2 separate regions of the Homo sapiens genome follow, and region 1 is linked to region 2. Evidence: promoter capture Hi-C in 16 types of primary human blood cells and fetal thymus (Javierre and others, 2016). All regions are on one chromosome and are shown on one strand. Each heading gives the region's core, a stretch centred on a gene start or on the middle of the fragment in contact. The rest is flanking DNA. Distances are from core to core; before and after follow the strand shown. Region 1 holds the start of ANGEL2 (angel homolog 2). Region 2 holds the start of C1orf74 (chromosome 1 open reading frame 74).

Evidence for each region. Contacts are between HindIII fragments. The CHiCAGO score rates a contact against its expected background, and 5 or more counts as called.
Region 1: the fragment with the promoter of ANGEL2 here is called in contact with the fragment with the promoter of C1orf74 in region 2 in 3 of 17 cell types (non-activated CD4 T cells, total CD4 T cells and naive B cells); the score reaches 7.8 in non-activated CD4 T cells.

Annotation. Positions count from the first base shown.
Region 1 is chr1:213,014,485-213,017,184 of GRCh38, forward strand. ANGEL2 (angel homolog 2) reads right to left here and starts at 1,383. Exons shown (of 9, transcript NM_144567.5): 1 at 1,129-1,383. The coding sequence starts at 1,187. RefSeq lists enhancers at 220-808, 809-1,396, 1,109-1,418. The HindIII fragment of the contact is 5,816 bases long and covers 1-2,700 here.
Region 2 is chr1:209,783,303-209,786,104 of GRCh38, forward strand. C1orf74 (chromosome 1 open reading frame 74) reads right to left here and starts at 1,257. Exons shown (of 2, transcript NM_152485.4): 1 at 1,076-1,257; 2 at 1-407. The coding sequence starts at 332. IRF6 (interferon regulatory factor 6) reads right to left here. Exons shown (of 9, transcript NM_006147.4): 9 at 2,315-2,802. RefSeq lists enhancers at 962-1,579, 1,136-1,395, 1,580-2,195. The HindIII fragment of the contact is 4,418 bases long and covers 1-2,802 here.

The sequences.
Region 1 (2,700 bases), core at 133-2,632, 3.2 Mb after region 2:
GGGCATTCTACACTGCTTTGTGATAACTCTGAAAGCCATAGGAATTTGGGCACTTGGTCCATGCATTTTCTATGCTAATAAGCCACTGTATTGAAATATAATACTTGTACTACAAAAGCTATTATCTATATTTGCAGTTATTTATTCAGACTTTTTTTTCTCTTAAGATGTTAAGCTCCTTCAGGGCCAGAACAGAACCGTCTTATTCATTTTAATTCCGTTATCTTCACAAGTGCCTAGCACAGTGCCTGGCAAACAGCTGGTACTCAGGAAACATTGTTGAACTGAATTACCATCAAGTCCCAGGCCTATGGGAGTTACAACCAAATCCCCATCGCTTATGTAATAATACATGCTGTGTTTCCCAAGCGTGGTGGGTGGTACACGAGTCGGTTTCACAGAGTACACAGTTAAATTACTTGATTGTAATTTCTAAATACTTATGTTAGTTTATTAGGAAAAAACATAATCGCACATCAAATCCAAGACTCTGCAGACACTGCTTAGGGTGAAGCTAATGTGGGCAGCACCTACTGAAGTGCTTTTTAAAAAAAACTGAGTCAATTTAAAGAAAAATATCCAGTAAATAATACACGTGAAACAAGAACTTGGCCATAACAGTAAGGGATGACATACAAGTGACTAAAGTTTGAAAGACACTAACACATCAACAAAAATCAAGCCCCTCCTGGGCGTGTGCCACACACGCGCCTCCAAGGGATCAGGCCCGCCGAGACCTACTGCGGAGAGGCGGCCTCCCCGCCGACGCTCGGTTCCCGGGACGGTGCTGCGGAGTGTGTGGAGCAGGCCAGCGCTGGTCTGGAGGCTGGGTTGGGGGAAGCAGGCCAGGGATCCAAAGCCACTGGCACAAGCCTGGCCGGCGGCCCATGAACTCCGCGCCAAGACCCCAGACCTCGTTGGCCCAGCGTCCCGCCAGCTGCGCGGCGGGTTTACCTATCCCGCTTGGTCTCTGGAGGCTCGTCCCGGATGCACCATCGCCCAGACCCTCTTCCTCTTCCTTCCACCCCTAGCCCGCCCCGCCCCGCCCCGGGTTAGTCCCGGACGCCCGCCCGCTCTTTCAGGCCGCCCGCCCCTCTCTCCTCCCTCCGAGTACCCAGCCCTACTGACCGGCCTCTTCCCACCACACAGTGGCCGTAGCCCTTCCTCACACAGCGCCAGGCTTCCATCTTCGCCCTCCGCGTGCGTCCAGTTCCCAGGCCCCGGGTTCCACCTCAATCTCTATAATCGATGCGACGGCCTAAAGTATCTAGGGAACCCCATCACTCTTAAGTACCGACTCCAGTCCTGGCTGCAAGGCATGCTGGGAGGTGCAGTCTCGCCGGCCGGCCTACACTCCATCTTGCGCAGTCAGAGTCCCTGAATGCCTTAACCCGGAATTCTGCTCAAGGAGCATGCGCAGAGCGTGGGACGCGCGTGCAACCATTTCTGAAGAGGGCAAAACACCCGAACTTCGTCTTAAAGAAACAGAAATAAACTTTCTTTTTTTTCTTTTTCTTTCTTTCTTTCTTTTTTTTTTTTTGAGATGGAGTTTCGCTCTTGTCGCCCAGGCTGTAGTGCAATGGCACGATCTCGGCTCACTGCAACCTCCACCTCCCGGGTTCAAGCGATTCTCCTGCCTCAGCCTGCCAAGTAGCTGGGATTACAGGCATGAGCCACCACACCCGGCTAATTTTTGAATTTTTAGTAGAGACAGGGTTGCACCATGTTGGCCAGGCTGGTTTCGAACTCCTGACCTCAAGTGATTCGCCCGCCTCGGCCTCCCAAAGTGCTGGGATTACAGGAGTGAGCTACCGCGCCCGGCAGAAATAAACAGAGCAGTGAAAATTTTTAATTGCCCAAAGTGCAGATTCCCAGCTGAGGCTGAACAACGCATCCTCTGGGTGCCCATGGAACTGAGGTACCACAGAATTTTGCAATTAATGTTGCGGAAGCACAGCCATAGCTCTCACTTTAAAATGTACGTGTATGGGCCGGGCGCGGTGGCTCACGCCTGTAATCCCAGCACTCTGGGAGGCCAAGGCGGGCGGATCACGAGGTCAGGAGATCGAGACCATCCTGGCTAACACGGTGAAACCCCGTCTCTACTAAACATACAAAGAATTAGCCGGGCGTGGTGGCGGGCGCCTGTGGTCCCAGCTACTCGGGAGCCTGAGGCAGGAGAATGGCGTGAACCTGGGAGGCAGAGCTTGCAGTGAGCAGAGATCGAGCCACTGCACTCCAGCCTGGGCGACAGAGCGAGACTCCGTCTCAAAAAAAAAAAAAAAAAAAAAAAAAGTACTTGTATGTCTTGTGTGTCCACCTTTATTAAATGTATTATAGGACTGTAGATTGTTGAAAGACATTATTTAAGTGGAGACCCTGCAAGAAACAGGAAGAGAGAAACCGAGAAAGAATAAAGTGTGGAGAGTAGAGGGGAAAAGGATACTAGAAGGCAGGAGCACTGCTTTTATAGGCTCTTTGAAACAGTGGTAATTTCTTGGGAAGGCTTTTCTTATCCCTGGTGCATAAAAGGAAGTAAAGTGTATTTGAAAAAAACCTTTCCCTCAGTATGTAATTGATTCTTGTTATTTGCAGTAGTTAGGTTCTGTAAAGTTGCTGGAAACACTGAATTAGTAAATACTGAATCATTACTCCTAAGGGAAATACAGGATTAGGATCCTGTAAGCCTCTGGTCGCATT
Region 2 (2,802 bases), core at 7-2,506:
GTACCAAGCAGCACCTGCTCCAAGTGCTGACATACATGCTCAGGACTGACAATCAGGCTGTTTTCTCCAATCTCAAGGATGTGAAGTCCAAAAGTCAGGAAGCCAAGCCCCTTCAGCTCCTCCAGATAGCTCTGGAGCTCTGATGCCCCTGCACAGTTGCAATCATAGAGCACAGCTGGCTTCAGTCCCCGGGCCACAGCCAGCACCTCTCCAGCTAAGTGAAGGCAGATGGCTTGGGGTGGACTCCGTCTCTTTCCCATGCCAAGGGTCTGCTGAGCAGCTGCCACCAGCAGCTGAGGGCTCGGTGATGACATGAGATCTAGAAGCAACATCAAGAATGGCCTCCTTAGCTAGCCCGAGTTCCCTTCCCTGGGTGGCATCTTTCAGCCAGACACTTGAGGAGGGGCCTAGAAACAAAGCAGGAGCAGGGAATTATTAACAGCCTTCCTGTTAAATCGCGGTATCTTCCAAAGGTTATTCTGTCCCTCCCTGCTTTGAAATGGCGACCCAGCCCAGACAAGATAGTTTCACCGATGCTGCTTGATTTTTCTGGTTGACTTGGTCTCCCTCAATCATAAATTCGTGTGTTTTTCTAGCCTTATAGCTAGATTTATATTCCCTCTGGCTTTTATTCTAAATTTCACCTGTTGCAAATTACGTTCTCTGGTTCAAACCGTAGGGAATTTGGGGCAGAGGCGGAGGCGGGGCAGTGTTTGGCAAAATTCACAGCATTTCGCCCAAAAGCCCTTCTGGGACAGAGCTCCAAGTTCCAAATGTATCCTTTCCACTGACAACTCCCCTACTCTTCCCGCCAGAGAATAGTTATAAGAATAGTAATTTGATTAATATACACCAGAATGTGGACTAACAACCATCTCACCCTGACACATAAAAATGAATGAATGAAATCCACTAGAACTGCAGAAGGGTAGTATTTTAACTTCTGCTGGCCCCGCCTTCCCTTTCTGTCCGACATCAAGGACCCTCGGAAGATGAGATTTCTCCGATCCACACACCCCACACCAGAGCATGTTATAGTGATTTGCTAAATGAGGCATAAGTCTGTCTCACATACGTTCTTTTTCCACGTCCGCTACAGGTTCGGGGGCTCAGAAACTTTTTGCGGCTTCCTGCCTGCTGCCAGAAAGGCAGCTAGTCCCCCACGCCCAGCCGCAAGTAACACTGGAAAACCCGCCTGCGCTGGGAAGACCCTCGCAGCCCGCTCTGCTCCAGTCCCGCAGGCACCTTCTTGCGCATGCGCACCCACTCGAGTGCCGCCCTCTTTCCCCCCATTCCGTGACGTCATCCAGCCGCTCGCGCGCCTCGCGTTAGAATCACTAGCTAGGCAGCCTTACTGCGCGCCGGAAGTTTGGGCCACCGTGCGGCCCGCCCTTTCCGGCCAGACTGAACGCGGCCCCATCTGTCGGCTTAGGAACTGGGAAGGGCGGAAGTAAACGAGAAAAGGCGGAACCTGGTGAAACTGGTTTCCCGCTGCTGCCCTCATTTTGCTTCGCCGAACGTCCTCCCTGTGTTATGACGTCTGGTGTCCCACTTGACTGGGAATCCAGAAACAGGGCACACAGCAGTTAATAAACACCTTTGATTTGTGTCTGTGGAAATACGTTTTGTCCAGACGAAACATACCTCAAGACAACATATTTTGCAGAATAGCCTCACCTGTGGGTGGTGCTGAAACGTTTTAATTTTTTTTAACTTGACTTCCCTAAATCCTACATTTGAGAGGCCTACAACAGCTCTCTAGGGAGGGTGTGAAGGTGTGAGTATTCACTTTGAACAAATATGTGCCAGTCATGCTGCTAGGCCCTGGAGGTACTGCAGTGAGCAAAACAGACAAAACCCCCACTTTCATGGGGCTTAAGTTCATGTCTACTGAATCCAGTTTGCTGATTTCAAATAAGAAATGAGAAGTGATGACACAGAGGCTTTCCAGTCAGGTCATTACAAAGAAAAAGTGTTATTTCACGTAAGAGTTAACACCTTTTTAACTACCAGCGATTTGACCCATGCCACGAAGGGAAAGGATTTCTTGAGAAAACCCCAATATCTAAGGAAATGGCCCCAATTTATTTATACTTGGAGCAGGACAGAGATTAAGGGAACAGTGGACACCTACACTGGAGTTGTCACTCCTGGATCTATCTTGGTGGTGCCTTCAGTCCATGAAAAGTGAATTGTACAGTAAAGATGGGGTCAGCATGGGAGGAGGACCAGCTTATAGGAGTTACCAGCCTAAGGCTGTCTGGTTCTTAGCTCAGAGGGAATCAGAAGCTGAGAGTAGAAAGTAGTCTTCTAATTTTAGAACGTTTTCCTTCCCCGCATTTATTTAATTTTCCCATGGTGGTTAACAGTAAATCCCTAAAAGACTGATTTAGTTCATTCATTTATTCCAGCAACAAATATTTGAGAACACACTGTGTCCCAGACACTGTTCTAAGGACTGGCAGCGAAGTCCAAGACAAACAGTCCCTACCTTCAGCAAGTTTGCAGTCAAGCAGGATGCGGATGCTGAGCATTACAAGGGAAATGATTATTCTGAGAGAGGAAGTATGGGGTGCTATGGGAACATACAACCAGGGACCTAATTTTATGGGAAAGGGACCAGCCCAGATCCAACACTTGCTCTCCCAGTTTACCTCCAGTAGGTTCTTTTTAACTTGAACTAATCTTGTTTGGTGGGGTACACAGTGAGGAAAAAGAAGAGCTAGTGACAAAATCTAACTCCCTTCTCAGTCTTAAGCAAGGTGAAGGCAAGGGAGTAGAAGATATCAAGGGAGTGAGTGG